Regions from separate parts of the Homo sapiens genome. Here region 1 is linked to region 2. Evidence: promoter capture Hi-C in 16 types of primary human blood cells and fetal thymus (Javierre and others, 2016). All regions are on one chromosome and are shown on one strand. The core of a region is centred on a gene start or on the middle of the fragment in contact, and the rest is flanking DNA. Distances in the headings are between cores, read along the strand shown.

Evidence for each region. The method cuts DNA at HindIII sites, captures the fragments that hold promoters and counts their contacts. A CHiCAGO score of 5 or more calls a contact.
Region 1: a fragment that was not itself captured here is called in contact with the fragment with the promoter of RCAN3 in region 2 in 1 of 17 cell types (non-activated CD4 T cells); the score reaches 5.7 in non-activated CD4 T cells.

Annotation. Positions count from the first base shown.
Region 1 is chr1:24,925,004-24,932,157 of GRCh38, reverse strand. RUNX3 (RUNX family transcription factor 3) reads left to right here and starts at 1,882. Exons shown (of 5, transcript NM_004350.3): 1 at 1,882-2,571; 2 at 4,428-4,584. The coding sequence starts at 2,290. It overlaps RUNX3-AS1 (RUNX3 antisense RNA 1), which reads right to left and starts at 1,701. Exons shown (of 4, transcript NR_183341.1): 1 at 132-1,701. RefSeq lists enhancers at 179-768, 2,208-2,941, 3,114-3,293, 2,942-3,676, 5,088-5,357 and silencers at 1,534-2,003, 2,204-2,643. The HindIII fragment of the contact is 2,832 bases long and covers 3,013-5,844 here.
Region 2 is chr1:24,498,763-24,505,482 of GRCh38, reverse strand. RCAN3 (RCAN family member 3) reads right to left here and starts at 2,647. Exons shown (of 5, transcript NM_013441.4): 1 at 2,333-2,647. It overlaps RCAN3AS (RCAN3 antisense RNA), which reads left to right and starts at 3,101. Exons shown (of 2, transcript NR_144360.1): 1 at 3,101-3,135. RefSeq lists silencers at 598-798, 2,305-2,804, 3,086-3,258 and an enhancer at 3,862-3,961. The HindIII fragment of the contact is 2,473 bases long and covers 1,384-3,856 here.

The sequences.
Region 1 (7,154 bases), core at 3,179-5,678, 420 kb before region 2:
ACAAGCAAAGGGCACGGTGCAAACCGAAACCATTCGACAAATGGAATTTACCACCACCTGAAACAGCGGGTCATGGTCCCGCAACCTGCTCGAGGGCAGCACGTGTTGCCCGCCCCCGGCCAGGGCCCTACCTGGCCACGACGCGCTGCGCCTTCTCGGAGACGTTCCCGGAGGTGGGAGCGCCCAGGCTGGATCACTCGCTTTCCTCTAGTTCTGCTGCTCGTGCCAGCGCGTCCGAGGGCGCGCGGGCCTGGGTCCGCAATCGACAACTGCCAGGCGCAGGCTCTCTTAAAAGGTTCAGTAAGGGACCTTTGCCGTCCTTCCTTTCGACACGGCCTGAGGGCGTGCTGTGAGGTCCCGAGGTGGGTAGGGGCCAGCTCTCCCGGTGGTCGGGGTGAGTCCAGAGTCCTTCGCCCCTGGAGCGCACGCGGGGCTTGATTTCGTTTGGCAACGACGAAATGGCGCGCGCTGAGCAGGGGTCAGATCCATGATGAGATCTTGCGGCCACCGTCGGATCCTAAGCTTCTTTGCTTCCGAGGCTTGGAATTCATTGTTTTGCACCTGTCGAGAGCCGGAGGCAACGAAAATCTAGCCCCGTCTCCAAAGCGGCGGGGAGGCTCAGCACGCGTTCGTTCCCCAGAGTCTAGGGAGGTGTCTGGGGCGATAATTCGGAATGATTGTGGCTTGATCTTTCCCGTTGCCCTCCCAACTGTAGCCGGCCCCTAGGTCTGCTCGACAGACTTAGGAGGCGGGAGAGGAAGGGGTGATTTGCAGTGAAGCCCAGGAGAGGTTGGGCCACGCGGCTGGGAGTGGGAGCGGGGACCCGGAGCCGGGCGGGCAGGCAGTGCCTTGGCGAAGCTGTCCGCGGTCCCTGCGGCGCAGCCGGAGCGCACGGGCCCAAGAAGAAGTGGGGTTGGACCCGCAGAGGCCACTTTCCACCCGCATGGAGAAAGAAAATTCTCTCCTCTGAAAGCGAGGGCCCTTAGCTTTGCAGCCACTGCTGTTTTTCTTTTGCCACCGACGCGCGTACCGTTTCACGATGCAGGACCGTGGTTACATGCGTAAAGGAAAAAAAGAAAAACGCATTTTGCAGGCCTCGTCGTGTTTTTCAAAGAGCCACAGGCCGCCACAACGAAGAACGACGCCGCGAGGCCTGCAAGATCCTGAAACTTGTTTTGAGGGGAGAGCAGAGAGGAAAGGGGTTGTTGGCCCCAGGCTACTTAGGGTCCCTAGGAGACTCCCTTCCGCCTGTCCCCGGTTTGGCACAGGGGCCACCGAGGCTGGGACCAAAGCCGCGCAGGGCTGGGAGCAGCAAAGGCCGCCGGCCGGGCGTGGACGACGCGCAAAATCCCGTGTGGGGTGGAGGCTCTTGGGTCAGAATAATGTGCGGGACGAGGGAGGTGAGTAACCTCTTTGGGGCGGCTCCCAGTGCGGCGTCACCGGCCCTGAGACCCCGCGGCCCCCAGCCCGGGGTTGCAGAAGTCACAGGCCCGAAGCAGCAAGAGCTGGGGAAGCCCGGCCGCGGCCAGCGGGGAGGAGGAGCGAAGGGGTTGCGCCCCAGCGTCAGGGAGCTACGACCCGAGAGAGGGCGGCAAGGGCGCCTTCCGTGGGACCCGGACGTTCTAAGCAAATTTCTAGCATTTGCCCCGGGCTCCCAGAGCTCTCGGGGGCCCTGGGCTGTGGCACTGGGGCCTCCTCCGCGGGGTGGCGCCTTCCGCCCCTCCCCGTTGGGCGGCCTCCGGCAGGCCCCGTTCCTCCCCGCGAACGCCACCGAGGTGCCCGCGATGGGGGCTCCGCCGATTGGCTGTGCGACGCGTCGCTCCGCCAGCCCCGCCCCGCGGGCCCCGGGGGTACTAACCCCGCGCGGGCGGCCGCGGCCCCGCCACTTGATTCTGGAGGATTTGTTCTGGGGCTGCGGCCGCGGAGTCGGGGCGGCCGCGGGCGAGCTTCGGGGCGGGAGGCGGCGGCAGCGGCACAGCCCCGCGCGGGCCCCGCCGCGGCCCAGGCAGCCGGGACAGCCACGAGGGGCGGCCGCACGCGGGGCCGCGCGCCGAGGATGCGGGACTAGCCGGGCAGGCTGCGGGCGGCCGTCGGGCCAGCGAGGCCTCGCAGCGGGCGGGCCCTGGCGAGTAGTGGCCGGGCGCCGCCCCCTGCGCCCTGAGGCCCGGGCCCCGCCGCTTCTGCTTTCCCGCTTCTCGCGGCAGCGGCGGCCGAGGAGGCGCCCGCGCCGGCCGCCCCCGGGGGAAGCCGCGCCGTCTCCGCCTGCCCGGCGCCCTGACGGCCGCTGTTATGCGTATTCCCGTAGACCCAAGCACCAGCCGCCGCTTCACACCTCCCTCCCCGGCCTTCCCCTGCGGCGGCGGCGGCGGCAAGATGGGCGAGAACAGCGGCGCGCTGAGCGCGCAGGCGGCCGTGGGGCCCGGAGGGCGCGCCCGGCCCGAGGTGCGCTCGATGGTGGACGTGCTGGCGGACCACGCAGGCGAGCTCGTGCGCACCGACAGCCCCAACTTCCTCTGCTCCGTGCTGCCCTCGCACTGGCGCTGCAACAAGACGCTGCCCGTCGCCTTCAAGGTGAGTGCGGGACCCGGGGCGGGAGGGCGCCGGCCCTGGGGCTCCGGGCGTCTGAGCTGCGGGAGCCAGAGCCTCGGGAGCAGTGGGGATGGGAGGTGCCCGAGACGCCGCGGCGACACCCGGGCACCCGGTTCAGTCTGGCTGCGCGCTCGGCTCCGGGACCTCGGCGTTCCGTTTTGGATGCGCCCTGCAGGAATGACTTTTAACGGGGTTGCCCCGCTCCACCTGGGTTTTGGGGCGCCTTGCGTAGAGACGTTGGTGCGGAAATGGGCGGATGGGGTTTTGCGCCCCCCTAACCCGGATCGCTCAGATACAGCCCTGCGGGTAACGGAGAAGAGGATCCCGGGACAGGGGCAAGGACACCGCGGGTGGGGTGCGAACGGTGAAAGGGCCTACCCTCCGCCTCCAGCACCCCTCCTCCCGCGCCGCTTCGCAAAAGCTTCCTGCTCACACCCTCGGGCTTCCGAAATTTTACCGGACGGCGCTAGGCCGGGATCGGGGCACTGCTCTCCAGACGTTTGCTCGGGGATATTATGCGTCCCGAATGGCGAGTTGAGATTGGGGGACCCCTAACCCTGGCAGCCCCCAGCCATTTAGAGGACCTTTTTCTTTATGCCAGGGAGTAGGCGACTGTTTCATTTTCATTTTTTTAAGGGGGCAGCGAGATGAAACGAAAACGCCTCGGTTTTCCCCTAAACCTCTCACAGCTGCCGTGAGAAAAGGGCAGGGCAGGAAGGGCCGGCGGCTGGGGGTGGTGCTGCCCGAGGTGGCTGGAAGCTGAGGCCGTCCCTGCTCCCATTAAGACGACTCTAAATGGGAAAAAAAGGAAGAGTGGCTCTTTGAGGTCTCCCGGGTGACATCTTAAAATACCAGTGGGGGAAATCTCGCCGGGAGGGGCGGGAGGCCCGTGTGACTTTAATCGTCAGATCGGAGGTTTTACTGTCACTTGGAGCTTAAAAGGAGTCTTTGAAATTAAAAGAAGACAGGATGTTGACAGGAAATCTGGTCTTCTTAATCAGATCCCAAACATTTTCTCCTTGAAATTTTTACCATATGGATCCCCAGTCCCTGCACGCGGCGGCCACGTTTAAATAGTTGTGACTCTGTTTAAAGTCTGATTCTTTTTCAAAAGGCATCCGCCTCTCCGTGCTCCTGGGGGTGGGGGATTTGGGGGAGATGGTGTTTAGGGGGACATCGCCACCCCCATCCTGCAATTCCCGGCAGGTGCATCCTTCCATTATCAAAAGCCCCACTCTCACTTTAAAGGGGTTTTCTGGTGGCCTTTTTCAAAACACCAGTGAGTTTTGCATTCTGCATTTTCTCTGCATAACGAATTTAGGCTCTGCAGAGGCCAATAAACTGGGCCTGGTCCACATTTCAGGGCCAAATTTCATGCCCTAAACAGCTCTTGCATAAATTGAGTGGGGGTAGCAGCCCTGTTGTTATTATTGTTGTTACTCTTTCTCATTTGGAGACTTCGTTGCTAGGAGCATGTTGATTCCTCTTTCGCTGCAGCCGAAGACAACAGGGGAACTGCACCCCACATCATAGTGACTGAGCTGATTCACAGCTCTGGCTTAGATTTCATTGAAAGGATGATTTCTTGGGACACAGTTTATGTAAGCAGTTGATCTAGGATTTTGGTGTGGAAGCTCGAGATTCCATCTTCTTGTTTTCGTGATATTTGGGGGAAGGTCTTTATTGTTTTTAAGCCTCTTCTCCACCCTGCATTGGAGAAATACTCAGTGTGCCTGGGACCTGGGGGAGCTGCCCAGCCCAGCCCCTCCCCTCCTTTCCCTGGTCACCCTCTTCCTTTCTAAGCTGTCCCCCTGCATCCCCCCGCCCCGTGTCTTCAGGTGGTGGCATTGGGGGACGTGCCGGATGGTACGGTGGTGACTGTGATGGCAGGCAATGACGAGAACTACTCCGCTGAGCTGCGCAATGCCTCGGCCGTCATGAAGAACCAGGTGGCCAGGTTCAACGACCTTCGCTTCGTGGGCCGCAGTGGGCGAGGTAAGTGGAAGGGAGGCCTCGCCATTTCAGCATTGGCAATGGCAGGGGCAGCAGGGAAGGAGGTTGAAAGAGGGGCCTTAGAATCCCGAAAAACAGGTCTCCAGATGCAGCTCTGTCTAAAAACAGCAATTTGTAATCCTGTAGGATATTACAGATCGCTTTGAGGAGGTGAGGAAAGTTATGGTCTCTTGCCAGAAAAAGACAATTTTCTCCCAGTTTCTAGGGTTTACCAACTCCTGAAACCGTTCATGCCACCCCCTCTTTCCCGGTTAAGCACACCTGGTCTCACAAAAAATGCTGGCAGGAGATGGTGGATTAACAAGCTCAAAAAGGGAGCTTATAGGTCTTTCAGCAAGGCGGTTGCAGGACAAGTCCCTGATCTGTGGGGCCCAAGCACCCCAGCCACTCTCTCCATAGGGGGCAGAATATCCCCCACACTCTGAGGCTGTCTCTCCAGCTGTGGTCTCCCAGACCCAGTTTCCCAGCGCCTTTGAGCCCTAGGTGGTCTAGAACGGAAGCTAACGCAGCTGAATGTTGGAAAGCACAGCTCGAAGGCTGCCATCTCCTGCCCCAGAGTCAAGGCGGGTGTGCCACCCTGCCTGTCTGACCGACCTTGAGCAGCAGAAGGAAGGCGGGACGGGGGTGGGGGGCTGTTGAATGGGAGGCTTCTGGGACCTGAAACCCATCATCACTTAACTCCTGGATGGGAAAGTCCTGGAAACCCTGCCCCTGTGGAACGGAGGCCTGAGGGTCCACTGGCCCTTTAAGACCAGCCTGCCTACGAGAAGTGGCTGAAGTGGGAGTCGCCCTTCCCAAGCACCAGGCCCGCCTCTAGCTTTGTTAAGAAGTAAGCTGGGTTCCCTCTGCTCCCCAACTCCACAGCAGGCTGAAGTGGCTGAAGCAGAACCGTGCTTTTCATCACCAATAAACAGGACCTTCTCAAGGTTCTAGTTCCCTCTGAGCTGCCAGCCCCGCTCTGAAACAGGCATCTGGGCACCATTTTTTCCTTTCCAGCCGTTCGATGTATACATACAAATGTCAGCCATATTTTGACTTTTCAGCATTAATTAAAACCAGGACATTATTTGCATGTAATAACTGTTTACTTGTTACTTTTTATGAAACTGAAATAGTTTACATTCTTTCAAACATTTCCTGTTCCTGTTGGCTCCCTTCCCCACACACAGATTTCTTTCAAACGGTGCCCTTAACTGGTTGCAGGTTGATGGATGGAAAATGTTTGCTTTTATGAATTAAGCTTTCATTGCTGCTCCTAATTAGTCTCCAAGTCCCTTTTGTCATCCCCAATCTCTCAAACCCTTTGCGACTTAATCCCAACCCTGAGAGGACAGTCACTGGTCCTTGGTCGGTGGCAGACAAGGCTGATGAGCTCTGCTGACTGCGGGGCAGTGGCCAGGTCTGCTAGCCCAGGTATGTGTCAGGAGCACTATAGCTGCTGCCTGTTGCGAGGCGGGCAGAAGGTGCTGTCGATCTGGGAGCCCAGCAAGGCATCAGGAACTTGATTCTCCCTTCCCACTCTCTCTCCTGGGAAGCGAGAGAAAGAGAAGAGACGACGATTTTCTGAGTTACCGAGACCTTGTCTGGCCATTCTGCACACTGAGAATGATTTTTTTAGGGGTTTTCATGCCCACAGACCTTGAGCCCCCCTCCCCAGGCCTGCAGGGAGGGAAATGGGTTTCCAAGGCGTTGGTTGGGAGCTTGTCCTTGTAGCAGGAATGGCCGAGGCTGGGACTGTGGCTCTGGGAGATGCAAGAGGCTGAGTTTATAAACCATTCTCTCATCCATCTCCTCTCAGAGGTCCATAACCAGTCTCAGTGGTCCTGGGAGGCAGGAAGTGATCTGAGGAGGAGTTCCGATGTCTGAGGAACTGTGGCTAAGGCGTTCAGCCTTCAGAGGCTCGAGGTCTTTGAGAGCCTGCATTCTAGTATCAGCCACCCTGCGTTTGAGTCCCAGCTCTGCTAATGACTTGCTGGATGACATTGGGCAAATGACTTAACCACTCTGTGCCTCAGTTTCCTCATCTGTGAGATGGGGATGATAATGGTACCTACCTCATGAGATTTTGGGAAGGTTAGGGAAATTGACACAAGTGTATCAGCTGGCGCATATTGAGAGCTGGATACATGTTAGAGATTTTGTTACTTCAAATGCCTGGGACTGGAGGAGGACTTTGAGGTCCCTTTGAGCGGTGACAGCCACTGATTCTCTGATTACTGTGTGGTTTGGGCGGGGGTGGGGGAAACCCAGAAGGTGTGAACTGCTGAGTGGGAGAGGTGGAGGCGGTTGGCAGGGAGGAAGGAGGGTGCCGGGTCCGCTGGCATGCAGACACACATCTGCAGTGCCCATCCTGCTGACTGGGAAATTCCCACCTGAGAGAACAGTCAGTGGTTGACAGTGACAATCTGGGCCACTTTAGGAGATGGGACACTTTGGGAGTTAAGACTGGGGGTTGGGACCCAGAACCCTTGCCTGGGTCTCTTGACTTCTGCCAGAACTAAGAAGTCTGATGGAAACCTCTGCTTGTTGCCTCAATTTTTAGTTCTACATTC
Region 2 (6,720 bases), core at 1,398-3,897:
GGGAGGCGGAGGCAGGCGGGCTGCCAGAGCTCCAGAGTTCGAGACCAGCCCGGGCAACATGGAAAAACCCCGTCTCTACAAAAAAACACATGGTGCACGCCTGTAGTCCCAGCTACTCAGAAGGCTGTGGTGGGAGGAATACTTGAGCCTGGGAGGCCAAGGCTGCAGTGAGCTGTGTTTGCACCACTGCACTCCAGCCTGGGCAACAGAAGGAGATCTCAAAAAAAAGAAAAAAAAAAAAAAAAAAAAAGAAAAAAGAGAAAAAAAAAAACAAAGCAACAACAAAAAGCCACTTAGGATCGTCAATGCGAAGTTCTGAACGGCTATCACGAAGCCCTACCTTCTATTCTCTACTCATTTACCACTTACAGGTAGAACTGTACTATTTTTTAGTAGCTGTGTGTAAGAAAAATTTCGTGCGACAGTAAAGTAAAACGGGTGAAAATTTGATTTTTGTATTTTGTATGTTTCAATGACCCATGTCTTGTTTTCACAGATAACCTAGAATTGGTCCTGTTATAATTGAAGTTCCACTCCACCAGGAATTTGTCAGCAAGAGACAGATAGAAATAAACAACAAAAACCAGCCTACAAAACATATGAAAACAACAGGTTTTAAAGAATAACTGAAGTTGAGATATATAAGACTGATGCTATTTGTTGTGCTGTGTATAATTTCTTTTCCCTGGATAGAACCTCTACATTCTAGGGGAAAAGTGGAGATTGCTGTCCGACCTCCACCTTCTGTGTTTTTTTTCTAAGTAACAAACGGTGTTGAACTTTAGAGCTTCCATTATTTCACAGGCTTCAGGCTAATGGATTTCCGCGTCACACTATTTTTCATGCTTTAAGTCCTTCAACCAACAACTCTAACACCATATAAAATCTGCTCTTGTCTGTTACCTAATGTTCACATGTTTGAAACCTTTACAAACGTTATATTTCAACAGCAGGAAAAATCTTGTTTCCTAGAAAAGCACTGAAATCTGTTTTCAGGCTAAGAGAGAAAAGGTTTGGCTGGGTGCGGTGGCTCATGCCTGTAATCTCAGCACTTTGGGAGGCAGAGGTGGGCGGATGGCTTGAGCCCAGGAGTTCAAGAACAGCCTGGGCAACATAGTGACACCCAATCTCTACAAAAAATTAGCCGGCATCTGTAGTCCCAGCTACTCAGGACGCTGAGAGGTGGGAGGATCGCTTGATCCTGGGAAGTTGAGGCTGCAGTGAGCTGTGTTTGCACCACTGCACTTCAGCTGGATGACAGAGCGAGGCCTTGTCTCAAAAAGAAGAAAAGAGAAGAGAAGAGAAAAGAAAAGGCAAGGCTTGCCAATGCAGTAAAATGTAAAGCTGATGACCTGGCTAAAGAAGAGACTCAGTTTTCAAGCTTTTCACAGTCTTCCTGGATGGAAAGCCCATTTCTAGATCAATTTAAATCCCCACCAAAAAGAACACATTTGTGTGATGCATATCTGGCTCCTGAATTATGTGTTTACAGAGTTTAAGATATTGAACCAAAGCCAATGAAATAGTCTTAAAACAAATTACTTTACATCGTATGTAATCACAGCTACAGATAAATCAATTGCTTCTTTTGCCAAATAGTACATCAGAGACTTCTATGAAAAGTTCAAATAAATGTGGTGTACTTGGTGGCTTCCAACAAGTGGAAGCGAATATTTTTGGCTTTCAGCACTACAGGAAAACATCACTTTAAATAATCCTTGTTTGTATCTGAAACACGGATCTGGATTGCTTCCTACACTAGAATCCTAATCTCTAAAGGAGATGATCAGATTTTGCACGGAAGCTAGAAGAATCAACCTGGAACAGATCACTCCTGCCCTACCTGTCCAGGCGGCGGACAGAAGCAGACAGACAAGTTTCAAGAAGTTAGGGAGTCACTAATGCGATGGTGATCCACGCACCGTGGGGGAAGCGGGGCAAGGGAGAAAGACAGGGGGCTTCCACCTTCCAGGCGCCCCTACACCGCTCCTGCCTTCACAGGCAGGCTGGGCCTGTCGGCTTTTCAAAAGGTCAAACACACTTGGTGGGAGAAAATCGTTGGTGGAGAAGACAAAACATTTTTGTTTTGTTTTCCGGGACACCACCCTCGAGGCTGCCAGACTAGACCCCGCGCGCGAGAAGGGTGCGGCGGGAGGCGAGGTCGCGGGAGGCGAGGTCGCGCGCGGTAGCATCTCCCGGTCCCGCGGCTCGGAGTGCCCACCCCTCCCGGACTTCTCGGGGCGGCTTTTTTTTTTTTTTTTTTTTTTTTAACTTTTCATGCACCACCCCCCCCACCCGCCCCGCCCCGCCCCGCCCCGCGCTGGGTGCAAACCTGCTGGAGAGGCCGGGCGCCGTGGGGCCTCACCTGCACGCCCCGCCGCCGCAGGACGGGAGCCGGGAGGGCAGCGGACGGGCCCGGGCTGCCCGACGGGGCTGCGGGGAGCCGGACGGCGCGAGCTGCGGGGCCTCTGGGAGCCTGGTGGGCGGCGGGCGGGGCCGAAGGCAGAGCCGGGAGCCGCCTGCAGCAGCAGCCTCGCCGCCACGCCCTCGACGCCGGCGAGAGCGGCCCCCTGGGCTGGGACTAGGGCGGTGTCCCGGCTGAGCTAGGCTGCCGGCGCCGCGCGCCCGCCTCGTCCCCTCCTGTTCTGGCAGGGCGCGCGCACGGCGGCGCAGGCGCCAGAGCCCAGGACAAGGCGGGGACCCGGGCGGGGACCGGGGCGGGGGCGCGCGGGGGCCGGGGTGGGGGTGTCTCGCCGCGCGCGCCCTCCTCCCGCTCCTCCGGGTTCCTGGTCCCCAGCCTGTGGGGGGCTTGGGCTGTAGCGCTGGGGCGGGGGCTTTAGATCACCCCGAAAACAGGACCTCTGGCGACCTTCTCGTTTTCCACCGGGAGCGGAGAGAGCCGATCTCCTTTTCCTGCTAGCCCCGTAGGACAGTCCCCGGAGCAGCTCATAGGAATATGACGAACGTTTACTCAGGGCTGGTTACTATGTACACTGCGCCCCGCGCGCGGCGAGTTTACCTCGGTTCACCTCCCGGCAACCGGCGGCCCGGATATTATCAGATGCTGTGGGCTTCCCGGCGCCTCATTGCCCGAGGAGAGGCGGCCGCAGGTAGCTGAGCTGGAGCTAGCACAAGGTGTGGGACGGCACAGGCTGGGTCCCGCCCTGGCGGGTACAACCCTCTTCCCCTTACCCACTCCTTCCCCTCCCCTCCCATCCCCTCCCCTCCTCTCCTCCCCACTCGTGCTCTTCTCCCTCCTCCCGCTCTCCCTCCTCCTCTTACTCCTCTTCACCCTATGCCCTATCTACCGTTGTCATACAATCCACATGTTTAATGCTTTCTTTTTCGTGTAAAAACCCTTCCACGCAGTCTTGCTTGTCTCCGACGCCTTAGGAGACCATGGGACATGATTACAACTATTACGCAAAGGGAAGAGCCGGGGTCTAAGCTGTTGAGCGAGTTTCAGTGATAGGACCGAGGCTTACATTGGCAGGTATTATTACCACCAATAACAACTATGATGACAAAGCTCCTGAGCCCAACTTGGAAGGCAGCTGGTGTCTCTTCCCTTAGCCGGCAGAGAAGGAAGCAGGGTCACACAGCAGGGAAAATAACTGGGCTCATCTCCCACCTACAAGGACGCGCAGTCACGCAGTGGTGCGCACCCGTAGTCCCAGCTAACTCAGGAGGCAGAGGTGGGAGGATCGGTTGAGGCCAGGAGTCTGAGACCAGCCTGGACAGCATAGCAAGACTCCGTCTCAAAAAAAAAAAAAAAAAGGAATGTGCAGTTAGAAGAAAATCAGCTCTCATTACCCACTCAAGACCTTTCAGAGGCAAAGTGAGGCACAGTGAAGCTTAACATCAAAGGCACTCAGCGCCTGCATCATGGGGCAGGAAGATGGACTAAAATGTGTACAGCACATCTAATCCCTGTTAGATGTAAACTAAGAAATCAGGGTTGGATTATGACCCCAAGGGCTCCCCAGCAGTTGAGCCCAGCATAGTCACCGAGGTATGTCCAGCAGATCGCCCCTCCTACTTCCTGCTTGCTGCTTCTGTGGTTCCTGCTGCCTCCAACCGTGCTGCTCCTGCTCCCCATCTTGTCTTAAACTAAGTTCTTCACTTTCATTCGTTTAACTAATATTGATGGCAAGCTGCTTCTTTTGTCAAGGTCACTCTAAGGACTATAGTAATTATTTTTTCTCTAAATTCCTCTAACACAGCAACTTTTGCAAAAATTGAGGGTTGTTTTTTTTTTTTTTTTTGGTGTTTTTTTGTTTGTTTTGAGATGGGTCTGCTCTGTTGCCTAGGTTGGAGTGCAGTGGCACAATCATAGCCTCAACCATCCAGGCTCAAGTGATCCTCCCATCTCAGCCTCCTGAGTAGTTGGGACTACAGGCACATGCCACCATGCCTGGCTAATTTTTCTACTTTTTGTAGAGACAAGGTTTCACAATGTTGCCCAGGCTGGTCTCAAACTCCTGAACTCAAGCAATCCTCCTGCCTTGGCTTCCCAGAGTGCTGGGATTATAGGCGTGAGCCATTGCACCTGGCCAAAAAATTGAGTTTTCACATCAAATGAGATTGGAAACAGCTGCATTCCATAGCCCTGCCTGGAGATGTCTGATGCACGTTCACACAAAAAAAATGGCCCTGAGAGATCCTAAGTCAAACAACCAGATTAGCTTAATTTAGTTTCCCTGAGGTATTAGGCCCTGTGTGGGTGTTGGGCTTGCAAGGGTAAGGTCCATAGAGATCTGCCACCTGAGGAGCTCACAGATGGGGGAGACAGTGATTGTGATACAGTTGTATTTGTGCACTGAGACATTTGCAAAGTGCTGACAAAGCAGAGGAAGAAGTGAGCAATCCTACATGATGGTTCAGGGAACGGGGTTCGCATTTTCCAGTATTATTCAAGATTCTCTTTTTTTCATGGAATACATCAATCAGACTGGGTTAAGCAGCAAATGGAATGCATTGACTCACATAATAGAAAAGTTTGGGGCTTCAGGCATGGCCGGATTCAGGGGCTTAAACTACGACATTAGGATTAAGTTTTTTCTCTCCATTTTTTTTTTTTTTTTTTGAGACGGAGTCTCGCTCTGTCGCCCAGGCTGGAGTGCAGTGGCGCGATCTCGGCTCACTGCAAGCTCCACCTCCCAGGTTCATGCTATTCTCCTGCTTCAGGCTCCCGAGTAGCTGGGACTACAGGCGCCCGCCACCACGCCCGGCTAATTTTTTGTATTTTTAGTAGAGATGGGGTTTCATCGTGTTAGCCAGGATGGTCTCGATCTCCTGACCTCGTGATCTGCCCACCTCGGCCTCCCAAAGTGCTGGGATTACAGGCGTGAGCCACCGCACCCGGCCTCCATTTCTTGACTCTATTTCCTGTTGACTTTGCGTTCTTAGGCTTCCTTTTCCCCATGAGATGGCAGAATGGCTGCTTACAATTTCAGATCACACCCTTTCCAGCAGAAAGGGAGTTTCTTTTCCCTGATGCTGTCAACAAAAGTCCCAGGACTACATCCCATTGGTCTAACTTGTGTTACCCGTGCATCACTAAACCACTCTCCTGAGAAGGGGCATGGAACATTCTGACAGCTCCTCACAAATCGCGTGGACTGAGATTTGGGGAGAGGTGGCTTCCTGTGCTAGATCATTTCTGTTGGCCCTTCCAGACCTACTCTCCACCCTTTTCCTTCCTGATTTGAACCTCAAGAGGCCAACCTGCATGGACTGCTTCCACAGATCCCTTGTCCTCTGACTTACAGTTGAATTCACCAAATAGAAGACATTGGAAATGAGACCCGAGGGTTGGAGGAGGAGGAAGGTAAGGGTATTATTCCTCTGGCCCCTGCCCTTCTGGGTCGCTGCAGGTTGGCTACATGTATTTATTGAAGCTTCTGTCAACTGGCCTTCTTCACACAGCTACTCTCTCCTAGTTCTAGTAAATTCTCCCTTCTCCACCTCCAGAATTATCCACCCTGGAGGTGATAATGGCTCCCCTCTGTTGCCTGCCACAGTGTATCACACCATCAGCCCTGCTTTTTCCCTCAACCCTGCCCACACATCTGTATGTAACCTTTACTAAACCCCCTTTAGATTAATCATCTGCTGGGATGCTGATGGTTACATTCAACAAAGGAGATTCAAGTCTCTATTACCAAAAGAAAGGGGAATGAATCAAGGGCAGGCAACAGCACTATGGTACTGATATTGGTTTGGAAGAAGTATCACCATAGTGCAGACCACAGATGACTGTGGCTTGGACAGGGTCGTGATGGGGGAAGCAATGAGAAATGGTAGGATTCTGGCTATATCTCAGAGGCAATGTTAACACAGTTTACTGAGGAATTGTATGTAAATCATGAGCAGTAGAGAGGAGCTGAGGGTGGAAGTAGTTGGAAAACATGCATCTGGAGCCTAGGAGTGAGCTCAATGAGTAGTGATTTGGGAGGGAGGCGCGTTAGTTAGTTGAAACCACGGGCTCAGATGAAATGACCCGGGGAGCCCACGTAGAATAGAACACAGAAAGGGCAAAAGGCAGAATCTAGAAGAACAAACACCAGCCTTTCCATGGTGAACAGAGGAAGAGTTGCCATCTTGTATCTATCGTCTAGATCGTGGGCAACTCGATAACTTGAGCGCAAGAACAGAATCTTCCACATCCTTCCTTTTTACCATCGTGTCTAGCGAGGTGATGACCACACGGTGGGTAAT